2 separate regions of the Homo sapiens genome follow, and region 2 is linked to region 1. The links are contacts of gene promoters, found by promoter capture Hi-C in blood cells and fetal thymus (Javierre and others, 2016). All regions are on one chromosome and are shown on one strand. Each heading gives the region's core, a stretch centred on a gene start or on the middle of the fragment in contact. The rest is flanking DNA. Distances are from core to core; before and after follow the strand shown.

Region 1 (7,420 bases), core at 1,403-3,902:
CACACACCTGTAATCCCTGCTACTCGGGAAGCTGAGGCATGAGAATCGCTTGAACCTGGGAGGCAGAAGGTACAGTGAGCTGCGATCGTGCTACTGTACTCCAGCATCGGCGACAGAGGGAGACTTCGTCTCAAAAAAAAGAACATGAATGCTGAGATGTTAATAATGTTCATCTCTATTCTAGGGAGTGGAATAACGGTAGTTATTTACTTCTTTGTGCTTTCCTGTATTTACCACAGGCAAACATTGCTATTATTTTTGAGACAAGGTCTCACTCTGTTGCCCAGGCTGCAGTGCAGCGGTGTGATCATGGCTCACTGCAGCCTCATCCTCCTGGGCTCAGGTGATCCTCCCACTCAGCCTCCCAGGGTAGTGTGGGTCACTGCACCCAGCCCATTATTTTTATGGTTAGGAAAAAATCATGCTTTTAAAAGCAAACAATGAGATGTGAGGATGATTGTGCTAGAGCAGAGGCGGGCTTATGAGATCACTCTGGGCCTCAGCTCCTCCTTGCTCACTGGTACTCCCTCCCTGACAGCACTGGTCAACCAGGGCACAGGGACTCACCTTCGGGGGTCTCTTTCCCCCAGCCTGTCAGTCAGGACATAGCTGGTCTTCTCACCCTCTTTGGTTAAACCCTAGTAGGGAGGGGAGTGAGAGAGACAAGGCTTGAGGCTTTTGGACAGTTCAGGTAAAGTGTAAGCCATGGGGAGTCAGGCCCCTCCATCTGGTTCCCAGCTCTGGGTCCTCTCTCCCAAGCAGGGCCAAGATTGGCAAATCAGGGACCCTTGGCAGTAGATGCCCCAACTCCCATGGCAGCCAGCACCATGACCGTCAAATAGCCCCTGTTTACCAGTGGCAAACCCATGGTCTTATGGGAAGGGCCCTGGGAAGGGGTTAGGCAGCCTGAGTGTGGATTCTGGTGGCCTCTGCACCCCTAAATAAATACCGGGAAAGAAACTCCGTGAAGTCAGGGGCAGGTTTGCCTCATTCCCTGCTACACCCTAGTGCTTAAGGGTATGGCCCAGAATGGACACCAGGAGATATTTGCTGAGCCAGTGAAGGGAGGAAGGGATGGTCTCTGCCTTCTTGTAGCCAGGAAGAACAGTCTTAACCCCAGATTGAGAGTCAGTCCAATTTGAAATAGAAGCTGTGTGAACCTGAGTGAGTCAACTACACATCTGTTTCTTAATTTGTAAATGGGTATAAAGACCTACTAGATAGGAGTATAAGGACTAAACCTGATAAGGGTGGAGCATGAATAAGACACTTAACAGTGGTTATAGCTGGGGAATGGGATGGGTGATAAGGAGAGATCCATTACTTTATCTAGAACTGTTTGAAATGTTTTCCTATAAGTTTGTATTATACACAATAAAAACTAAGGACCAATTGCACAGATGCCCAAGTGGCAACTTCCCTAGTCCTGAAATCCTGATACCACCCTGTGGGCAGAGCAACTCAGCTGTGGCTTCTCCAGAGTCCACAGAAGAAGGGCTGTAGTCATTTCAGGGCTGAAATGTGGCCATACCTGGCCCTAGGACAGGGTTCCTCACCTGGACAGGTTCTCCATCACGCCACACCAGACCTTCTCCATCACTTTCCCAGCAAAGGTGAACTTCCTGGCCCACCCATGCCTCTGGGATGGTCAGCTCCACCCGGAACCAGCAGGTCCACCATCTGCAAGAGAGCTGTTGTGATAGGCCTAGAGGTAGAAGTCCTATCCTGATATCCTTCCTTGGATAAAGTGTCGGCAGGGGCTTGAAACTCTCCAAGCATCTGCAGTGTCACAAGGTACTCAGCTTTGAGTCACAAGAAAGGAGCAACAAGGTGAGAAGCAAGATGAGGGAAACAGGCAGAGGCGTCAAAGGTTCGTGATCCCTAGGGTGCCCTTCCTAAGGGATGTCCAGAGGCGGCCACGTGGGAATGAAAACCATCCCCTGAAGACCCAGGGACCAGAGAGCTGTTCCCAGCAGAGGGTGCTGCTCCCAGCAGAGGGTGCTGCTCGATCCCACGTAGTTGTCTACGGCAGAGGGCAGACAACGAAGGTGTGGCTGGGAGCTGGGTTGGGACTTCCCCTAGGCCTGTGGCCCCGCCCACCCGCTGGGCGTTACCTACGTGGGTCCGAAGCTGTCGCCGACCTGCGCGGGGCGGAAGTCCCGCTGGACTGCCTCCTGGTAGGGAAGTCTCTCCGGCGTCAGGAAGCTGGAGAGCACAGCCACAGGGCAGCTGGCCCCAAAAAGCCTGCGTGGGACGGGCCGGTGGGCACATGCTGGAGGCCGCCCCGTTTCCGCCTGGGGGCCAGCTGGCCGGTGGGGCCGCACTTTCCCTGGATCCTCCGCCAAGAGGGCTGCCTGGCCGCTCCGCGGCACAGTCCATTCCCTACCCCCTCCTCCCCGGCCCCTGCCCTGCCCGCGGCGGGCACTTTGTCCCGCGGCCCGGGTGGCTGCAGCTTAGGTTTCTCCCCGGAAGGAAAGCTTGAGGCGCACGGTTGCGGTCGGCCGGCTGCGGGGGACCAGGGGCCACACCTGCCGCGGAGGTTACAGTCGGTAAAGTAGAGCGGCGACACGAACTTCTCCACCCGCTCCAGCGTGGTGCGCCAGTGCTTCAAGGCCGGCGCAGCCGCCATCGCCGGGCTCTCGCTCCTCTTTCCGGAAGGCCCCTGGCGCTACCGTTCCGCTCCACGGCAGGAAACCAAAGGTTCCGGCGTCCAGAGGGCGCCTCCCAGTCCCGGGCAGCTTTTCTTGGAACACCGGCGGCTCTCGGAAGCCCAGCTGCTGTCTGAACTTTGAGCCGAGTTGGAAGCTAGAAACTGTTTTTGAGGCTCTCCTATGTTGTCCGAAATAGTGGGCCGCAGGGAAAATCTCAAAATAAAATGGGAAATTTGACGATTAGAACTCTCGAAAGTCTCAAGACAGAGACTTAGGCCATTCGGCAAGACAGGCGGGAGCCTCAGCTGCTGCAGACCCAGCCTCAGAAGCAGCAACCGGGAGACCTCTGGCTCTAGCTGTCGGTGAACACGGAAAGTGGTGTTTGCTTAACGTGGAGCCAGACTACCCGGAATAGGTGTTTTCATACCGGACGGAGATCAGGGTGTTAGTGAGCAGGGTGGTAGAGCTTTACGCCCAAGTTACTACGACTTACTCGATTACACGCTTTACTGAATGTATATTGCTAACTCTTGCACATCACCAGAAACTCTGGAGTTTGAGGTGGCAGAACAGTCATGGCATTGACGATCCCAATGGAAAAATGTATTTCACCATACAGGACTGTAGAGTCCCGGGAAGCCATAATACCAGAAACAGACCTCCAGTTTCATTCTCATCCCTAGTACTCCACTGACAGCTTTATTTTTTTTCTCCTGGGGTTGCCAAGAGTCTTTGTCTATAAAATCATTAGGAACAAAAAAAAATACACAAGATTAGCCCTGATATTTTAATGGAAATACTGACCAAGTTTACAACATTTCAAATGCAGATCACACGGAAAGGTGACTAAGTACAGAATAACAAATGTGATTTAAAACAAAGATAACCTGCTGCTGCATATAATACAGGTTGGGTTTAGAGCTTGGAGCTCAGATGTCAGACAGCAGGAGGAATAAAAATGCTACTTGTGAAAACCCAGGCTGTAGGTAAAACTTACTCTTTTGTTGGTTGCACTGGTGGGTTGGGACTTTCTCCTGAACTGGCCTTGAAATCCTATCCTGACCTGCAGGCAAGTGCTCTGGACAAAACACTGCAGGGGCAGCAACAGCTGGGGCTGACCCTGATCACACCCCACCAATTTCCCCTATGGTTCCAGGTCAACATGACCTTTCTTGAGGGAACACGGGGATAGGTGAATTATTTGAGAAAACCTCAAGATCTTTCCCCTAAATCAGTACACATGACCACCGCCAAGTCAGACACTGCCCCAGCTTTGCCCTAAAATCTCATCCCACAAAGCTCTTTTTGGCACCCTACACTTTGGCTCACAGTCTCTTCTCCCCAGTACAAAAAAAGCCTAAAATCAGGCCAGGGTGGCTCACACCTGTAATCTCAGCACTTTGCGAGGCCGAGGTGGGAGGACAGCTTGAGGCCAGGAGTTTGAGACCAACCTGGGCAGCATAGCAAGACCCTGTCTCTACAAAAAGTTAAAAAATTAGCTGGGCGTGGTGGCATGCAGCTACTCAGGAGGCCGAGGTGGGAGGACTGCTTGAGCCTGGGAGGTCAAGCCTGCAGTGAGCTATGATCGTGGCACTGCACTCCAGTGTGGGTCATAAAGCGAGACACTGTCTTTAAACAATAAAAGCCTAAAATCAGAGAGGTCTACCATGTGTTTTGAAAATCCAGGAGCCAAAAAATTTTGTTTTTCTTTTTGGTGGTGGTGGTGATTTTTAACTAAAAAGCAAACATAAAACACACAGAACATTGCTGGTTACAACTAAGACTTGCGTAATGGTTGCTGAAGAAAAATCCACCAGAGTACTGGGAGGGGCTCAGTTGGTCTTTGTTCAGAAAGTCCAGGTTAACCACATAGAAAAATCCTAATCATTCATGTTTAAATGTCTGCTAGTTTAAATTTATGTAATTAAAAAAATAGGTATCCCATTTCAAATTCTCTCCCTCCCAACTCCATTTATAAGGTATACCACATGCCTTATGCACACTTTTTTTTCAAACACTGGTTTGGTATTTAAGTTGCTCACCCCCATCCATCACCAATGTGAATAAGAAAAAATATATAGAAATACAAACTACATAGCTTGACAACTTACCCAAATATAAAATATTTTCAGATTATTTGAACAAGGGAAAAAAACACGTACTAAAAGACTTAAGTATTCTAAGATTTTGGAATATTTTGATTTGGGACAAGTAACAAGTATTTTAAGCAAAATCCTGTTTCTACCCTGGATAAGGAACTGAAGTCAAAATCCCTGCTTCACAGTATTTTCTGGTGAGGACAAGGGACGTGGGTTGAGAGTTTATTCCTTAAGTAAGAACCAAGCTTTATTTATTTACAAAAAAAAAAAAAAAAAAGTTGGGGGCAAAGGGGAAGACAAGTTTTACACAAAAGTACTACAATGGTAACTCCCTTTGGTAAAAAGTGTAATAAATGTCTTGTACATCTGTTCATAGGTACTAAATCTGAAGCCACAGTACTATGGTACACAAGAAGCTAGAGCAGTTATGCTAGCACATCAAAGCATATTTCTTTTAATAAAAAATTGACAGTATGTACATTATGTACAAAAAAACAAGTTAAAATTGTGTGTGTGTGTGCGTGTGTGTGTCAGAGAGTAAAGCTGGTGGATGGCACTAAGGTAGACTAGTAAAGAGGCAGATACAAAACAGTTCCACGGGAGCTAAAAAGGACAACTGATTTGAACTCGTTGAGGTTGAGAACCAGAGGAGAGAAAAGGGTAGGCAGCAAGGGAATCGTCAGGAATAAAATCCACAAGATGATCAATCCCAAAGCCAAACTGCAGGTCCCAGATAAAACCTAATGGGTGATCTTAGATGTGCTCGAGTGACCAGAAAAAAAAAATCAAATCCAGCTTTTTTTTCCTTTTGTGGGGAGGGGAGAGGAGCAGTGACCATGATAGTTCCAATCCATCTGAGTATTAAGTCCTTCTCCAGTCTGTTTTGTAAATGCATCTCCATCCAGTCAAAGTGTGAACAGCATCCGGTTCCCTCATTGAAAGTTAGGCCACAGGAGACTCCAGTCTTAGCTCTGCTGGTGTGTGCAAGCAAACTGCATGTCTTTGCTTGCATGGACTTCCTTCCCCTCCAGGGCAGGCTATACCCAAAACCCTTTGGGAAAAGTTCCAGCTTCAGCTTTGTAAGGTATTCATGTTCCTAACAGGTAGCCCACTTGGTGCCAGGCTGCACCAGCCACACACAGGTCAGGTGGCCATGTCCCAGAGAGGCCCAGTGAGGCTTGAAAGGCATCTTCCTTGTTTCTTCAGTGTGTGAGTGCATAGGCCCACACACACATCCCCACACACACCCCAAGTTATCTGCTCTGGCTTTGCAGTTAAGGGGCTTTGAATACTGTGCCGTATTTGACACGATACTTGTTAATGCTCACAAAATGCAGGGTCTCTGTATCACAGGTGGTGGTACAGGGCACCAGGCCCTCCAGCCCCTCACCCATGAGCCACTTGCTGGTCTCTGCTGCCATTTCACGGGGCACATGCTCCTTGGTCCATTTATCTACCCAGGCCTGGAATCTCTGATGTAGACGCTTGCTTACACGCTCATGGGACTGCAAAACAGAAAAAAAAAATTTTATTAAATGAAGCAGAACCAAAAAAGAGCCCTTCAAATACAAAGCCTAATTTTCTTCTAAAGGAGCAAAGGAAAGATGTGGGCTCAAGTCTTAGATACCACTGTTTTTTTCTTAAAAGAAAAAAAAAAGGATTCTCTGTTTAAAGAGAAGTTAAAGAGGTAAGAACATAGAACATGTGAGGGCATGAAAATCCATAAAGCCTCCAAAGAAATGCGAACACAGGCTCTGGGCTGAAAAAGCTCGCTGTTCTCAATTTTAGCATGCGTTAGTATAACCGAGGGAATGTGTTAAAAAATACACATTTCTGACCAGGTGCAGTGACTCATGCCTGTAATCCTAGTACTCTGGGAGGCTGAGGCAGGCAGTTCGCTTGAGCTCAGGAGTTTGAGACCAGCCTGGGCAACATGGCAAAACCCCATCTCTACAAAAATACAAATAATAACTGGGCGTGGTGGCACACACCTGTAGTCCCAGCTACTTGGTAGGCTGAAGTGGGAGGATCGCTTGAGCCAGGAGGTGGAGGCTGCAGTGAGCCAAGATCGCACCACCGCACCCCAGCCTAGATGACAGAGCCAAACCCTGTCTCCAAAAAAAAAAAAAAAAAAAACCCAAAACCCCCAAAACCCACATTTCCTTGGTTTACCAATGTGCATTTTAAACCAGCAATCCAGCTGATTCTAATGTATCCTGGGTAGGACCCAGTGAGCCATTGATCACTTCTATCAGCATGGAGATCCACCTCTAAGCCAGACAGTGCAAAGCAAAGGGCTTAAAACCACTCTCCCTCCACTGTGTTACCCCACCCTGGGAAGCAGAGTCCAGGCTTGGCAGATGTTCTGCAGGGGGTTCTGTTCCCACCAACACATTCAATAAAAATTTATTGGTGTCCACATGCAAGGATACTAGAAGAGATACAAAGACAAAACTGGTGTTGCCCAGTGTCCCAAATAATGTGAATCAGAGACAGGCAGACACACAACACATAGCAAAAAAAATGAGCCAGGTGTGGTGGTGCACGCCCGTAATCCCAGCTACTCGAGAGGCTGAGACAAGAGAATCTCTTGAACCCGGGAAGTGGAGGATGCAGTGAGCTGAAATCATGCCACTGCGCTTCCCTCAGTGCCATGAGAGAAGTAGAGCA
Region 2 (6,814 bases), core at 691-3,190, 340 kb after region 1:
CTCTTGCCCTAAAACCCTTGTGGCATCTCCTTTGCCAACAGGGCATAAGGCCGTGGGCTTCATTTTGCCATTTAAGGCTTCTGTGCCCCAGCCCAGTGGTTCTCCCTGGCCTGTGCTCGAAATACGCCTCCCAGCCAGGCTGCTGGCCTTCCTGTCTCAACACCCCTCTGCTTACGCCCACCTTGGTGCCTCTGAGTCAGCGCCCCTGCCTGGAGGACTGACTCCCTTCCCATCCACCAAGGCTTGGTTTGAGGCCCACCCTGTGTCCTGCCCCAGCTTGCCCCTGCTTTTCTCCCCTCTGTACTTTTCATCCAGATTTTTGCTGTTTGAGATTTAATTTGCCTTTCTGCCTCCTGAATGAGTCTCAGTTCAGCCTCTCAATTTCCCGTGCCCCTGCGAGCCTAGCACCATGCCTGCATGCTGTCAGGGCTAAGAAGGTATTTGAGAATGGCTCTCAGTTGAAGCCCAAGGAGGTGGGGGTACTGGAATCCCTCCTTGGCTGGAGGCTGGGGCCTGAATGAGCTGACCACCCTGGTCACCTTGGATGCTCCCTTCCCATCTCCCTGGCGGCCCAGCCCATCCCTCAGGCCCTGAGATCTTAGGGGATCTGGTCCCTGCAGGAACAGGGAGCCTGGAGATCCAGCCCTGATTCACCCCGCGGGGGTCCTCCCTTGACTCACTTCCCTTCTGGGAACCATGTGATGCCCTCTTTTAGAGCTGGCTTCTCCATCTGAAGGAGAGAAGGGTGTGGCCTGGGCCCTTGTGAAGGAGGCTCAGGCCCTGCCTTTGCTCCATGTTGCTCTTGGGAATGATCTCGAAGGTGTAGCTGAAGCACTGAATCACACGTGGGTAGTGATGATGGATGGGCCCTAAGGCCACAGTTCTTATGGCATAACTAGAGCTGCCTTCGCTGAAGGAAGAATGCTGTCATGTTGGGGTTTCTGGCATCGGGACAGAGAGGGGATATATCCCAGCACTTCTCGGAAAGCGAACTTCCATTCAGCCTCTGCTGGGTCAGGCATCAGTGCTGGGATGAGGAGGTGTGGCAGGGGGTGGTCCAGAGCTATCTGTAGGACAAGCCCCGCTGAGGGGCACCAGCTCTCCCTCTAGGAGGCTGAGAGTGGGTAGTGGGTGGGGGGTCCTGCCTGTCACCAACAGGAGGAGGGAGAGGAGAGAATGAAGAGGGGAGGTGGCAGATAGACGGATCTGCAAGGAAGCAAGGGGAGGAAAGAAGGGGCAGAGCTGGGGGGCAGCTGGAGGGGTGTGGGGGTGCTCCTCACAGGGGAGGGCAGGGTGGCTCATTCCTCGTTTCCCACCTTGTAGCACTCCCCATTCCTGGCCCAGGGCATCTGAAGCTGGAGGACCCACTTCTCACTGTCGCCGGGTCCCTTTGGACCCCAACATACTCACCCCAAACTTGCCTGGCAAACAAAGCTCGGCCAGCATTGGGGTGGCCCCACTGGTGTCTCAGACAATCCAAACGGGCAAAGCCACGCCCTAGGCAATCCATGCCTGGGGCGCCTGCTCCCGCCCCTAACTGGACAGCCTTGGCTAGCTAGAAACCCCATAACCTGAGATAGCGGGGTCCCGTGTCCGCCCCAGGATTGAACCCCTGGCGACCCCAGCTAGTGGTGGGAGAAGCGCAGCCTGCTTGACTCCCGATCTGGGGGCCACTTCTGGCTCCTCCTGTCCCTTTTCCCTCCCGGAGGAACCCCTCTAGTTCCGCCAGGCTGGGTCGGGGTCTCAGGCCCCTCACTCACCCGCGGATGCAAGTCTGGCCAACATAGTCAGGGTCAAAGCCAAGGCCAGGCCGGGGGCTGGAAGTGGGGGCCGCGGCCCGGACTGCATCCCGGCGGGCTGGGCGGCAGGACTTGCGAGGAGCCAGCGGAGTCCTGGGAGCTGGGAGCTGAGTGGAGCGAGCGCGGCTCTGCTCCTGGGCGCGGGCCGGCTCCGGGTGTCCGCGCACTTAACTCCGGGGGCGGGGCAGGCGCAGACCCGCGCGCCCGCTCGGGTTTCAGGCTTGGACTCCCCCACCTGCCCCCACCCTCAACCTTCTTAAAGGGCCCGTGCGGGGCTGTTCCTCTCTGGGGCAGGGGTGAGGGGGCCCTTGCAGCTGGGCCAGACCCCAGCCCCACCCTAAAGACTTAGAACAAAGTCATAGAGAGGCCCAGACACCCTGAACTCTGGCCCCAAGAGCCGAGCCCGGGAGACCCCCTCAGGGAGGAGGCATGAACTGTCCCAGCCCCTACTTCCCTCCTTTCTGCCTTTGCGGGAGTTCAGGAGACCCCTCCACAGGCACACTCCAGCCTTAGGAGGAAGGACAGACACCAGCCACCCTCACAGGCGGCTTTTGGGCTGCTTTGCCTCGGAGGTCCCCTAGGAACTTCTCCAGACTCCAGAGGCACCACCCGAGGTCCTGTGGGGCACTGCCCATGGCTGCAACAGTGACCTTCTCTGCCTGGAAGGGCCTCACCTCAGTCTCCCTGTCTGTAAGGGAGAGATGTCTGGATTTCCTCGCAGGGCAGAAGAATTCTCAGTCCCGCCATGACATTTGCCTCAAAATAACCTTGCAAGGTGGGTGAGGAGCATCCCCTCCCCCATTTCATGGAGGACGAAAGTGCAGCTCAAGCTGAAAGTGGCTCTTACAAGACTCCAGGTGGAAAGTAGGTCCCTGGCCGTTTGGTGCCAGAAGCCCAGGCCTCCTGACCCCTGAATCCGGGTGTTTCAACTTCCCGAGGCTGCCTCCTGGAAATCTGGCCCTGGATTTGGCTTCTACCTAACAGCTTCAGGCTGGGGCCCTTCTGCTGGCTCCCTTCCAGGCAGCAACATCAGCCTAGTCCCAAACAGGAGGAGAAAGGGCAATGTTACTTAGCTTCCGGTGCCTAGAGGATCTGCGTGTTCTCTGTCCAGTCCCAATGTTACCGGGCCTTGGTTTACTTCCTCCATTCAGGTCCCTCCATCTATCTGCTCCAGCCCATCTCCAGCCCAACCCCACCTTGCACCCTCTTCCCAGCTCTTCCCTTTGACCAGTAACAGCCCAGCACTTCATACTTTGCAACGAAACTGAGACCTGTTTTGCAGATGAAGAAACTGAGGCTGAGAGAGATTAAGGGACTGGAGCTAGTCTACATAGCTGCTGAGATGTGGGGCCAGGTCTTTGACCCTAAGTGCAGTGCTCAGGTGTGATGGTGCCTGGTCCATGTGGGGGTTATGAGTATTGGTCTTGAAACCAGAGAGACCTGGGTTCAAATCCCAGCTCCCTTACTTGGTTGTCAAACCTTGAACAAGTCCCCTCACCTCTCTGTGGCAGTTTCCTCATTTGTAAAATTGGGTTAATGAGGATTAAATGCTTTAATGTACCTCAAGTCCCTAGCCCAGGGCCTGGCATACGGTAGGTGCTCAATAAATGCTTATCCTTTCTCCTCCGTCTCTGTCATCCTGCACATTCCCTGTGATTCATGGTTTACATACAGCTTTACACATATCACCTCCCTTGTTGTAAAGCTTGAACTTTCTCCTCCAGAGGCTGCTGCATACAGTAGGTGTACAATAAATGCCTGCTGTAGTTGACTAAGAAACCAATTGCTGCTGTTCTGTAGGGATTTTGGCAAACCTAAGAGCTTCCATCCAGGTGCCCTAGGAGGCCTGGGATGGAGGCTGTGCTAGGCTGGCCTCAGTGGCGGTAAAGGCATTGATTCCACAATTTGTCCCTTGTTTTTTTTTTTTTTTTTTTTGAGACAGAGTCTCGCTCTGTTGCCCAGGCTGGAGTGTAATGGCGCGATCTCGGCTCACTGCAACCTCTGCCTCCCGGGTTCAAGCGATTCTCCTGCCTCAGCCTCCTGAGTAGCTGGGATTGCAGGTGTGCACCACCATGCCTGGCTAATTTTTGTATTTTTAGTAGAGATGGGGTTTCACCATGTTGACCAGGCTGGTCTTGAACTCCTGACCTCGTGATCTGCCCGCCTCAGCCTCCCAAAGTGCTGGGATTACAGGTGTGAGCCACCGCGCCCGGCTGTCCCTTGTTTTTCCTTCTCCTCAAGTCGGTAGGACACCTGGTCCTCATTAGGGGCTAATTACTGACAAGCTATGGGGCTGGGGGTGGGGGTGCTGCTTGGAAGACTGTGTTTGGAGGAAAAGAGCTTTCTTTTCAGGAATGAAAAAATAAGACAGAAGGCTTTTTGCTCTATGAATCAAAAATCTGGGTGAAGATCTCTGCTGGCCCCATCTCCCCCCCCCACCCCCTCCCCATCTTCCCTGCTCCCCACCTACACAGATGTCTGTGGAGCCTCCAGACAGGGTGCTCCCACCCACAGCTGAGATTCAAGTCTGGATTAGCTGGGAGCCTCCCCCTGCCTTGTTGCTAGCTGGGCAGAGAAACACAGGCCTGGAAAATAATGGCAACCAGCACAGCGGTAATAACCCGGCTGGCGCATCTCTGCTGGGGCTTCCCAGTTTACAAAAAACATTCACTTGGTCTCTTGACAACTTTGGGAAGCGTATGTGTTGGCCAACTGTGTCCCTGCTTCCAGATGAGGAAACTGAGGCTCTCAGTGGAAAAGGGATGCTGCGGCTCCAGCGCACACAGGCCTGGCCTTTGCTCAGCCGTAACCTAGGGCTGGAACTCCGGACCAATGCTGAGCAGCATCATGCCAGGCAGACTGGCAGAAAGTCGAGGTCCCTGTGTGCCTTTGGAACTGACCCCTGACCACCTCCCACTGTCTTGGAACAAAGGCTGCTGGACCAGCTGTGCCTGCTCCTCAACTGTCCCCTCTCCAGCTCCTCAGCAAGCTCACCCAAGGCCCTGAAGCCTCAGTGCTGAACAGAGCTGACCTGGGCCTCTCTGGCATCCTCAGGTCTGGCTCGGGCCTTCTTCCTTCTGCCCTCCAACCTTTCCCATGACTTTGCTTGGCCAGGCATCCTTGGTGGCCATCCCTGACTGCCCCTACCTCCCTGGCCACATCTCACCTTCCTCCAGCAAGCCCTCCTAGCCCTCCTTCGTGCTCGTCGACTTCTCTTTCAAAAGATTCCCTGGAATCCTGATCTCCGTAGCTCTCCTAGTTTCACCTGGGGCCTGCTTAGCTGGGTCAGGAGGTGTGCGTCCATGCCTCCCCAGCCAAGCATGGGACAGAGCACAGGGTGGGAGGGAGGAGGAAAGAAGGAGGCTTAGAACACACTTATAAGAAGGAAGAAGGATGTTCCCACCCAGGGGCAAAAGAAGATTCAAACTTCTCTGAAGCTACAGTGACCTGTGGTATGTGCTGCCTCCATTTCTCCAATTGTTCTTGGAGAACAAGACAACAGAGGGCCCAGTAATACTCACCTCCCTGCCAGCAGAGTTCACCCAACCATGCTGGCCAAGCACTGCTGGTCACTCCTACCTCTAGTGCTTCTTGGACTAAGAGTCCCCGCTCTGGGCAGTGGCTGTGGTTTGGCCCCACCCTTGGCCAGGGTGTTTTGCACCCTCGTTGCCTGGGCCCCACCCAAGAAGCCTGTGGCCAAAGCCAGCTTGCTGGGAAATGGTGTGTGCCTGTGCCCTAGATGGGGTGGTGCCTAAGCAGGGGTGTGCTCCTGCTGCCCAGGGCCCGCCCTCAGGGAATTGGCCCTCTGCCATGAAGGTCACAGAACCTAGGCCACTACTGTGCAAGAGGGCACGGGCTTTAGGCGCTGGCTCAGTGGCCCTGCAGTTTTCTGGCCAAGAGCTCCATGGCAGCGGGCCCTGGGCCTGGGCCTTTGACCTGGGGCCTCTGTTAGGAGTGGTCCTGATCCTGCTTCTGGCAGAGGCACACACAGGGCTCCTCCAAGTACAGGCAGCCAGGCTCAGGATGGGAGGGAGCAGCCAGTCCCAACAATTACACAGTTCGGGAGCTGAAAAGTTATGTTTGCCACTCTCAGGAGCCAGCTGTGGAAGGGAGGCCAGTGGAGGGCTTTGCCCTGGCCTCTGAGCCACACACAAGCCGTGCTGGGAGGACAAGGGCCGGGGGTGGTGAAGGACCCTCTTGGAGCCTTTGCTTTCCAGGAGCAGGCACTCGTCTTCCATATCACACTCACAAAGGCTGGTGGCTTCAGTGGCTGTGACCAGCTGGCCACAGCTGACTCCTCTGGGGTAGTGCTGTTTCTAAATATTAGTTCCTGCTGTTAACCCTTGCTGTGCGGCCCCAGTGGACAGCCGGCTGCCTGCAGACAGAGCCTCTTGGAAGTAGAGTGGACAGTCCCCACCTGGATGAAAAATTTGTGAGTATATTTGCTTGAGGGCTGGGTTGGGGCTCCCAGAAGGAGGGTGAGAAATACCTGCTTAGGGCTGGGAATGAGGCTTGCAGTAGATGTCAGGGGATGTGGGTCTGAGCTGGCCACTGGGCAGGGCAGTGGAAAGAATGTGGGGTCAGGAGCCAGGAGCCCGGTCCTGCCAAGCCTTTTTTTATGTGGCCCCAGACAAGTCACTTCGCCTTTCTGTACCCCTTTCCTCATCCGTAAAATGTACAGCCACCGAGGTGCTTGGATGATGGCCTCCAACAGAAGCGCCGGAGCTTTATAAACTCTGAAGTGCCTGGTGGTTATGATGATTTTTATGCCAGGGTCCTGCTGTCTGTGACTCCCCCGAGTCCCTTGGAGGAGAGGCAAGACTGACAACCAAGAGACAGCTGGAGCAAGCTGGCGGGGCTGCTGTTAGCCTGTGTGGAGCTTTAGTGGGGACACCACCCTATACAAGAATACCCAGCTTGGAGTTCAGCCCCTACTGGCCCCATTGGCTCTTGTCCTTGCACAGTGAAAAGCCTAGTGGTAGCCAGGCTCCAAGATGGCCCTCAGTGAGCCTCAC

The links. The method cuts DNA at HindIII sites, captures the fragments that hold promoters and counts their contacts. A CHiCAGO score of 5 or more calls a contact.
Region 2: the fragment with the promoter of CSPG4 here is called in contact with the fragment with the promoter of MAN2C1 in region 1 in 1 of 17 cell types (erythroblasts); the score reaches 6.1 in erythroblasts.

The regions. Positions count from the first base shown.
Region 1 is chr15:75,365,955-75,373,374 of GRCh38, forward strand. It overlaps MAN2C1 (mannosidase alpha class 2C member 1), which reads right to left and starts at 2,653. Exons shown (of 26, transcript NM_006715.4): 1 at 2,529-2,653; 2 at 2,119-2,244; 3 at 1,557-1,680; 4 at 568-638. The coding sequence starts at 2,629. It overlaps SIN3A (SIN3 transcription regulator family member A), which reads right to left. Exons shown (of 21, transcript NM_001145358.2): 21 at 3,425-6,255. The coding sequence ends at 6,025. RefSeq lists a silencer at 2,320-2,399 and enhancers at 2,426-2,958, 2,530-2,849, 2,534-2,828. The HindIII fragment of the contact is 2,518 bases long and covers 2,476-4,993 here.
Region 2 is chr15:75,710,908-75,717,721 of GRCh38, forward strand. It overlaps CSPG4 (chondroitin sulfate proteoglycan 4), which reads right to left and starts at 1,941. Exons shown (of 10, transcript NM_001897.5): 1 at 1,761-1,941. The coding sequence starts at 1,848. The HindIII fragment of the contact is 21,900 bases long and covers 1-3,502 here.